Linked DNA regions of Homo sapiens: region 2 is linked to region 1. The links are contacts of gene promoters, found by promoter capture Hi-C in human tissues and cell types (Jung and others, 2019). All regions are on one chromosome and are shown on one strand. The core of a region is centred on a gene start or on the middle of the fragment in contact, and the rest is flanking DNA. Distances in the headings are between cores, read along the strand shown.

What was found. The method cuts DNA at HindIII sites, captures the fragments that hold promoters and counts their contacts. A contact is called where the count stands out against the background at its distance.
Region 2: a contact is called between a fragment that was not itself captured here and the fragment with the promoter of OAS1 in region 1, in 4 of the 25 tissues and cell types used here (heart left ventricle, liver, mesendoderm cells and 1 more).

What each region holds. Positions count from the first base shown.
Region 1 is chr12:112,903,843-112,908,929 of GRCh38, reverse strand. It overlaps OAS1 (2'-5'-oligoadenylate synthetase 1), which reads right to left and starts at 1,968. Exons shown (of 6, transcript NM_016816.4): 1 at 1,711-1,968; 2 at 106-394. The coding sequence starts at 1,890. RefSeq lists an enhancer at 1,688-2,127. The HindIII fragment of the contact is 21,386 bases long and covers 1-5,087 here.
Region 2 is chr12:112,707,965-112,713,051 of GRCh38, reverse strand. It overlaps a transcript of RPH3A not described here. Among named protein-coding and RNA genes, the nearest start is that of MIR1302-1, 15 kb to the right of the region's middle. RefSeq lists an enhancer at 2,388-2,888. The HindIII fragment of the contact is 4,247 bases long and covers 495-4,741 here.

The DNA of each region.
Region 1 (5,087 bases), core at 719-3,218:
ACCCTGCTTTAGAGAGATGCCCTGTTGGGGCAAAAAGCTCTCAAACTGTGGGAGATTTCTGCTCAGAAATGGGAAGAGGGAGAAAAAGAAGCTGGGAGCTCTCACCCAGGGCATCAAAGGCAGGCAGCACATCGAACTCCACCCCCTCCCCGAGCTGGAGCGAACTCAGTACGAAGCTGAGCGCACGGGGGTTGCCCCAGCGTGGAGCCTGGACCTCAAACTTCACGGAAAATGCTCTCTCTCTTTGACAGGCTTCCAGCTGTCTCCTAATTTCCTGGATGAACTCTCCCCGGCGATTTAACTGATCCTGAAAAGTGGTGAGAGGACTGAGGAAGACAACCAGGTCAGCGTCAGATCGGCCTCTGAGGGTGGTGCCCTTGCCTGAGGAGCCACCCTGAAAAAGACGACAAAAATAATAATTGATGCTTAGTGAGGCAAACCTCCCTAAATAAAATGACAGGAGCAATCACTAACATTATGGAGCACTAGCCACTGTTCTGAAGGCATTGCATGTCTTAAACTCCTATAATGCTCACAATGATGCTATGATTTGGATGCCATTATCATTAGTTCCCATTTTACAGATGGGAAAATGGATGCTCAGTGAGATAATATATCAGCCCCATCACCCAGCTAGTAGGTGGCAAATACAATTCAAACCTGGGGGCCTTCTTCCAGGATCTGTGTTCTTTTCCCATTGTCCTTTACGATGCCCAGGACTAGCTTATGCTGGGTGGTTCACACTTACTATTTTACTTAATCTACACGGCCCTATGAGGTATTGAGGGAAAGTAGAGGAAAAATCAGTTAGGTAAATGGTCAAGGCTGGGCCCTGGAGGAGCGGCCTGCCTGAAACTGGCGCAGGGAGTGGGACTTACCTAAAACAAATCCACAGTTATACATACAAGAGAAGCAGCGCTTTATGCTTGCCTAGAGATATACCCACAGCTGCATAAGGTAAGGGAAGTTGCACAGCTTTACTGATAAAAAGTTTCTCAAACAGTTACAGGGAGGAGAGTGGTTTCTTATAAAAGTTTTTTGCATTCAGCTGCAATCTGGCAATCCACTCAGACTTCCCTCTCCACAGTGGAGACAGCTTTCTTCTTTTGCTTACTGAACTTTTGCTCCAAGCTCACGTTTGTGTCCATGTTCCTTAATTTTCTTGGATGCAGGACAAAGAACCTTGGGTACTAATTCAGTGAGAAGCTGCTACATTAAGGTGCACTGGCAAGACTGCAACAGTATTGGGGATTATGGCTGAGGAAATTGGAACACAGAGTAGTTAAGTGACTTGCTCAAGGTCTTGCAGCCAGCAGGTGCTATTTGCTTTCAAAACATATGATTCTTCACTGCAGAAATGGTGAGCCCCTAGCCTGGCCACGAATTAGCAAACTGTTTACCAGAGCTGGGATTCAGTTCCCTATTTCTGAAATGGGCATCGCCCAGGACAGTGGTTCATAAACTTCAGCGGGAAGTAGGGGGGAGGGTCACTTGTTAATAATAGGGATGTAGGATTTCACCCCAGAATCTATTTTAACATGCTGTGTGGATAAATAAGAAACCACCATCCCAGAAGATCTCAGCTCTCTGTACTCACATTTGCACCCTGGGTTCTAGGTTTTTGCTTCTCTCTCTCTCTCTCTCTCATTCTCAATCTCAACTCTTGCACATTCAGCCACCCCTCCCCTGGCCAGGCAGGCCTGGACTCACCTTTACCACCTTGGACACACACACAGGGTAGGAGCTACCTCGGAAGCACCTTTCCTTCAGGAACCCACAGATGATGTCAATGGCATGGTTGATTTGCATGCGGAAACACGTGTCTGGCAAGAGATAGTCTTCAATGAACTTGTCCAGAGATTTGGCTGGGGTATTTCTGAGATCCATCATTGACAGGAGAGAGAGTGGCAACAGAACTGCCTCCCAGACCTGTTTGCTTTTATCTCTTCTGCTGACTGAGCTTGGACTGCTGTTGGTTTCGTTTCCTCAGAAGGGAGGAGCTGTCTTTGCACTTTCCTTTTGCAAATCAGACACTCCCCTGATCCCAGTGCTGAATTTCATCTGCTCACTCTTCTGCTTCCTGAAACTTACCCTTTGTCCTTTAGCCAGCAACAAGCAGCCCAGCCTTTCTCTGAACTCTGCTCTGGAAATGCATTTTAACCTCCAGCCAACATAAATCTTATTTAACAGATTTTGTGTTTCCTTCTTTATCTTTTTTTTGTTGTTGATGAAATCCTTTCACAGTTGTCTGTGGTATTTTCCAGCAATACATGCCCACTGCAAAAAGAAAAAAAGTCAGAAAAACCAGGAAGTGGAAAGATCATCTATGATTCTAACACTACAAAATTGCCTCTATAAACGTTTTGATATAGAGCTTTCCAGATTTTTTTCAAATGTTAACACACACACAAACACAGGTCTCTTTTCTTTTTGTTAAGAATGGTATTATACTATGCTTTTTTCCCTTTCAATTAGTAGATTTTTATTTTATTTTATTATTTTTTGGAGACAGGATCTTGCTTTGTTATCCAGGCTGGAGTGCAGGGGCATGATCATGACTCGTGCAACCTCAACTTCCTGGGTTCAAGGGATCCTCCTGCCCCAGCCTCCTGAATACCTGGGACTACAGGCATGCGTTACTGCACCCAGCTCATTTTTTATTTTTTGTAGAGACAAGGTCTTGCTATGTTGCCCAGGTTGGATTTTATTTCTCACAGCAGTTTTAGGCTTACAGAAATATTGAGCTGAATGTGCAGAGAGTTCCATAAGCTCTCTCTCCTGCCAATAAGTTCCTCTATTATTAACAGTACTGTGATACATTTGTTACAATTGATGAATTGATATTAATACATCATAATTAACAAAAGTCCATTTACATTAAGGTTTACATTAAGGTTCACTCTTGTGTCCTACAGTTCTATGGATTTTGCCAAACATAACATGTCATGTATCCACCATTACAGCACCATGCAGAATAGTTTTGAGATAGGAGGTGGGGCTTGACTCAGGGCCAGATTGAAGACTGGCTGGCATGAGCACCAGCACCATGAACAGTTTACTCATTCCCTGGCAATGACCCAGTTACCACCCTTCTTCTAGAAATTTCTGAATAACCTGCCCTTAATTTGCACGTATTTAAAAGTGGGTATGAATGTGACTATAGAAGTGCCCTGAGCTGCTGCTCTCCAGGCACTGCCTATGGGGTGGCCCTGCTCTGCAGGGACAGTCACAGAACTGTAACCCTGCTGCCTCAATAAACCTTTTTCTTCCTCCTCTAGCTCACCCTTGAATTCCTTCCTGGACGAAGCCAAGAGCCTTCCCGGACGGTGTCCCAGTTTTGGGGCTCCCCTGCCCTGCAAGAGTTTCACTACCTTAAAATCCCCTATGCCTCACCTGTTCATCCCTCTCTGAGTTAGATCTTTCTTCTCCTAATATATGCATTCAATGCTATAACTTTCCCTCTAAACACTACTTTCACTACATCCCACACTTTTTGATAGGCTGTTTTTTCATTTTAATTTAATTCAAAATATATTTATTTATTTTGTTGAGACAGGGTCTCACTCTGTTGCCCAGGCTGGGGTGCAGTGGCACAATCTTAGCTCACTGCAGCCTTGACCTCCTGGGCTCAGGTGATCCTCCCACCTCAGCCTCCCAAGTAGCTGGGACTACAGGTACATGCCACCATGCCTGGCTAATTTTTGTATTTTTTGTAGAGATGGGGTTTCTGCATGTGGCCCAGTCTGGTCTCGAACTCCTGGGCTCAAGCGATCCATCTGCCTCAGCCTCCCAAAGTGCTAGGATTATAGGCGTAAGCCACTGAGCCTGGCCCAAAATATTTTAAAATTTCTCTTGAGACTTCTTCCTTGCCCCATGTGTTATTTAGAGGTGTGTTCTTTAATCTCCATATATTTTGGAATTTTCCAGCTATCTTTCTTTTGTGGGTTTCTTTTTTAATTCCATTGTAGTAAAGGGCATGCTTTGCATAACATATCTCTGTTGAAATTTGTTAAAGTGTGTTTTCTAGCCCAGAACATAATATGTCTTGGTGAATGTTCTGTGTGAGTTTGAGAAGAATGTGTTTCCTGTTTTTGTTGGATGAAATATTTTGTAAATGCCAACTATCTTTCTTACAAACCCTTAACCTCTTAACCAGATTATTCATGAGTTGACACTCTCCACTCCTACTGTATAAGATGTTGACTTTGGCCTAAGACTAAATGTCACCATGAGGGTGGGGTGCTGTCTTTGCAATACTCACTTCATTTACTAGTTGAAGATTCTTGCTGCACTGTATGCAAAAAATTAGGCCAAGTATGATAAAGCAAACCAGTCATACCATTGTAGCAGGAAGAGCTGCAGACAAAAACCCCTCAGACACCGAGTTAAAGAAGGAAGGGGTTTATTCGGCCGGGAGCATGGGCAAGACCCCTGTCTCAAGAGCTGAGCTCCCCGAGTGAGCGATTCTTGTCCCTTTTAAGGGCTCACAACTCTAAGGGGGTCCATGTGAGAGGGTCGTGATGGATTGAGCAAGCAGGGGGTACATGACTGGGGGTTGCATACACCAGTAATTAGAACAGAACAGAATAGGACAGGGATCTTCACAGTGCCTTTTTTATGCAAATAACCTATTAGGTCAGGAGTCGATCTTTAACTACCAGGCCCAGGGTGTGGCACCAGGCTACCTGCTTGTGGATTTCATTTCTGCCTTTTAGTTTTTACATCTTCTTTCTTTGGAGGCAGAAATTAGGCATAAGACAATATGAGGGGTGGTCTCCTCCCTTACCATGATTCATCTTTAGTAAAAATGGGAAACTGGAGAAAGATTATGCTTCAAAAACTATAGTACACCTGTTGTTGCATTCTAGTCTTGCCTAATGTTTTTCAATTTTTATTATTTTCTATAGTTTGGACTGAATTCTAATTTTTCTTGGCTACAAGTCTCCAAAATAATATTTTAAATTTTTTCCTTCTTTTCCCCCCATTTTCCCTAATTTGGAATCACTGAAAACTAAGTTGTGCTTTTATAAAGCCCTGCAAACTGGAGCTAGACAACTTAAACCTCAGAAAAAAATAATTACATATTT
Region 2 (5,087 bases), core at 1,369-3,868, 200 kb after region 1:
GAGAAGAAGAAGAAGAAGAAGAAGAAGAGGAAGAGGAAGAGGAAGAGGAAGAGGAAGACAAAGACGACGAAGAAGAAAGAAGAAGAAAGAAGAAGAAGAAGAAGAAGAAGAAGAAGAAGAAGAAGAGGAAGAAGAAGAAGAAGAAGAGGAAGAAGAAGAAGAAGAAGAAGAAAAAAAAGTGAGCTGGGTGTGGTGGCACACAGTCCCAGCTACTCAGGAGGCTGAGATGGGAGGATCACATGAGCCCAGGAGTTTGAGGCTGCCATGAGCCATGATCACACCACTGCACTCCAGTCTGGGCAACAGAGTGAGACCCTGTCTCAAAAACAAAACAAAACAAACAAACAAAATATATATACACATACACACACACACACATACACACACACACACACAAGTAGGGGACAAATGAGCACCAAATTCATAATGCAGGCTACCTCTGGTCGGGGCATGAGGGACATGTGATTGGGGACAGGGCTGTGATTGCTTCAGTAGCATCTTAGTTCTTAAACTGGATGGTGAGTACATGGGTGTTCATTATGTTATTCTTTACACCTTTTTGTATGTCTTAATATTTTGTATATTTAAAATAACAATTTAAAAATAGACATCTGGATAATTTATGCGGTTTCTATTAGATTGAAACATAAGAAATTGCCAACGTTGGACCATTTTTTGACCTACAAAGGGACAGTTTCCTATGTTCATAACAGAATCTAGATCTATAACACATCAATTCATCCAAATCAACCTTTCTAATAAATCTTACTTATGAATAATGAAGAATAGAAAATGTTGGTCTGGGTGGATTACGTGCGTGCCTGCGTGCGTGCATGCGTGTGTGTGTTTTCTTTAACTCCAATTAAATACAGCATTCAGATGACAGAACCAAAATTAACCTAAGAACTAAAATGTACAGAGGCCGGGCATGGTGGCTCACCCCTGAAATCCCAGTACTTTGGGAGGCTGAGGAGGGCAGATCACCTGAGGTCAGGAGTTTGAGACCAACCTGACCAACATGGAGAAACCCCATCTCTACTAAAAATACAAAATTAGCCAGGTATGGAGGTGCATGCCTGTAATCCCAGCTACTCTGGAGGCTGAGGCAGGAGAATTGCTTGAACCCGGGAGGCAGAGGTTGTAGTGAGCTGAGATCGCACCATTGCACTCCAGCCTGGGCAACAAGAACAAAACTCTGTCTCAAAAAAAGAAAAAAATTGTACAGAGAACAAGGAACGAGGAAAGAGAGATTGCAGCAAAAAGTGGACAGATGCAGCATTCTCCCCAGCAAGCAGTATGGGTTATCACTCCTCCTACCTGCACTGGATAACAGAGCCCGCCCAATGAGATGCCCAGAAGAGCAGTCATTTGTCATTGGTTAACAACCTGAAGTCCAGTGAAGCAAATTCGTGGCCATTGCAACCACAAGGAAAGGAAAGCTTTATTAGAAATATAAAACACACCACTCGTTTCTGAAGTGCTTGAGTAAATTCCATTAGCTTATACCCCCCAGAAAACATCTATGCCAAGTAATGCAACACACTGCAAGAACAGAGGGAGAATGAGAAAATTATATTGCATTGCTATCATTTCAACTTTTTGTCAGTTCTTTTCAACTGAAAGTCGTCCCCAAAGAGATGTGCTCTTTTTTTTTTCTTCTCAAGGCTTTAAGGAAGAAACAAATAAACTTTTAGCAGAAAGGAGGAGGGAGGCCCAGGATTGCAGCACAAATGATCAAAGTGAACAAACTATGCTTATATAGGGCAGTTTGGGTATGCACAAGAAACACTCCGGGAGCTTATTAGAAATGCAAATCCCTGCCCCTGCCACTGTTCTGACTCAATAGGTCCAGGAATGAGCCTAAGAACTGTAAGTATTTAATAAGCACCTTGAGTGATTCAGATGCAGGGTGTGTACAGACCTCATCAAGAAAGAAATGTTGTGATAGGAGGATCCGGCTACCCTAAAATTGATCTGAATTCTCCCAAACGCTGTTCTTGATCAAAGAAAGAATAGTTGTTGCTGCCTGCTTGGAGTTCTTCTGAACTGGAGATAACATTCTAAGCTAATTTATTGCATCTCTGAAGTGCCTACTGAATTGTTTCATTCACTTATTCATTCAACAAATATTTATTAAGCACCTACTATGTGCTAGGTGCTGTGTTACATAAGAGACTCATGTTCAAGATAAAAGGAAGGGAGAAAGGCAAAAAGAAAGGGTAATAAAAAATACACAGAAACGGAAAAGAAAGGGAAGGGAAAGATTTTTAAGTAATGTTTTTGAATCATCAGGCAGCCCACTGTGGAAACATAATATGTAATTTATAATGACTTCTTTACATATCTTCCTGCTGACTGTACCTGGATTCACTTTGTTTTCTCTTCTGTATGTTAAGCTCCAGGCAAAACTGCCTCATTTGTTATGTACAAGTGGAGTCTATGCACACTAGGGAAGCTCTTGCTTTTAGCCTCTGGGACCTTAAGGACGTGTCACAACACTACAAATATGATTGGGCCTGAAAGGGAACTGGCAGAGGCCAGAGTGCTGTGGCCTGGGATCATGGAATGGCCGCCTGGGGACTTTACAGGGTACAAGGAGCAGCCTCCTGACTTCTCTCCTCCTGAAAGCTTCAAACCGCCCCTCCTACCCTCCTTGGCTTGATCTCAGCCAAACATTCCAACCTAAGAAAATCAACAGTCCCAGTTTGCCCAGGAAGAACGGGGTTCTGGGATGTGGGACTTTCAGCGCTGAAACTACGGTCAAGAAAGGCAACCAGGCCGGGCGCGGTGGCTCAAGCCTGTAATCCCAGCACTTTGGGAGGCCGAGACAGGCGGATCACGAGGTCAGGAGATCGAGACCATCCTGGCTAACAGGGTGAAACCCCGTCTCTACTAAACATACAAATAAAATTAGCCGGGCGTAGTGGCGGGCGCCTGTAGTCCCAGCTACTCGGGAGGCTGAGGCAGGAGAATGGTGTGAACCCGGGCGGCGGAGCTTGCAGTGAGCCGAGATCATGCCACTGCACTCTAGCCTGGGCGACAGAGTAAGACTCCGTCTCAAAAAAAAAGAAAAAAGGCAACCAGCCATGAACACAGGGCCTGGGGAAGCTACAAAAGGAGGATGCTCCGGCTTTGGGCTGCTTTGTGGCCTTGGGCAAACAATTAAACATGTCTGAGCCTCACTTTCCTCCTCTGTAAAGTGGGGGGATAATCAGCGCCCCACTGTGTTATTGTGAGGATTAAATGAACCTTCATGCTTGCTGTGTTGTCCGCCGGGAAGATCCTCTACTACCCTGGTTTCTTGGTTGGAATGACCCACCTGCAACCTACAAGCTTGGTTTAAACAGCATTTTTTCAGATGTCCCAGACCCCACATTCAAATCACTGGTATATAGCACAGTGCCTGGCACATAGTAGGTGCTTAATAAACATTTGGGGAATAAATAAACAATGCATAGCATGCACAGCACCTGACACGAGAGTAATTTTTTTTTTTTTTTTTGAGACAGGGTTTCGCTCTGTCACCCAGGCTGGAGTGCAGTGGCGTGAGCATGGCTCACTTCAACCTTGAACTCCCAGGCTCAAGTGATCCTCCTGCCTCAGCCTCCTGAGTAGCTGGAACTACAGACACACATCACTAACCCTGGGTAATTTTTTATTTTTTTATAGAGACAGGGTCTCACTTTGTTACCCAGGCTGGTCTCAAACTCCTGGCCTCAAGCAATCCTCCCACCTTGGCCTCTCAAAGTGCTGGGATTACAGGCATGAGCCACTTCTCCCAGCCAAGAGTAAATATTTTTAAATAGCTACTTTTATTATTAAAAGTATTTACTGGAACTAAGAGTGGTCAGGTACCTAAACAGCTCACTTTTTCAACACCTAGTGTGGCAGATGTTCTAGCAGGTCTGTTTTTAAAAATCAAAATAAAATCACTTGTCACCTTTGCCATACACACCCATCAAAGGGAGCTGCATTTTAAGAGAGTAAGAGTTTTAGGGTTTTGGTGGTTGTATTGCCATAAAAATAGAGAAAATTTTTTGACAGAAACCTTATATAATTGCTGTTTATTTCCCTTCTCTGTGTCCTGTATGCCTGAACTCCAATAAATGAGAGTAAAAATCAAATCTGTGATAGAGTTTTTATTTATTTTCCTATCTATAGCATTCTTTATAGGATCCAGATCTGGGAGAGAAAGAAAACAAAGGACAAAGGAAAAGAAAACTTGCCCGTGGGACTTCCCAGCCATCCCTTTCACCTGGTACCTTTAGGTCCTTCTATTTTCGCAGGAGGCTCCGATCCCCTGGGCGCTTGATAATTCTCTGAGGTCATGGAGATCAGATACATGGACACTCATCCACCAACAAAGGCTTTCAGACACAAACCAAGCTGCCTCCCAGAGTACAGAGGTAGCAACTCTGCTCATCACTACAGAGGCACTGATGTCACTCGGTGTCCCTCTGGAGGAGCAAATGGACCCACAACCCCACTGCTTTGCTCCCCACCAGCTCCTCCCACACGCTGGTCCTAACGCTTTGCTGAGCACACAGTGGACTCTCCACGAACACTTGCTGCTTGATCCCTTGTACGCCCCCATTTTGGCATCTCATTAATGACCAGCCACTACCTCTGAAGCCAATTCCAGCGCTGGCCCCATCTCTCTTCCCAGCAGCCTTGCAAATGCCGCCATCCGCCTGGACAGCCCAAAGAGGTTATGTGCCCCTTTTCCCCTCCTGGTCCTGGAAGACTGCACTGTTAACACCATCTCCACAGGGTTAACGAGAATTACATGCCAGACTTTAGATAAAGGTACAGAGAGGGCATTGATCAGGTTGCCATTTGACCTACTTCCCTGTAGCTACTTATGGACCACATAGGCTGTGACATAAACCATGAACTTCCTCATTGTTCCTATAGATGTTAGGAGCCCAAGACTTTCTGTTTGAGATGTTTTCAGAACAGTTGAAGCCAACTAGTCTGAAGATTCCACCAAGGAGCTAAGTCAGCATGAGAATGCGGTTTCTTCAGCTTCCCGTCCCACGACTTCAGCCCGTACTCTTTGACCAATCAACACCTTGGCCCACTACCCA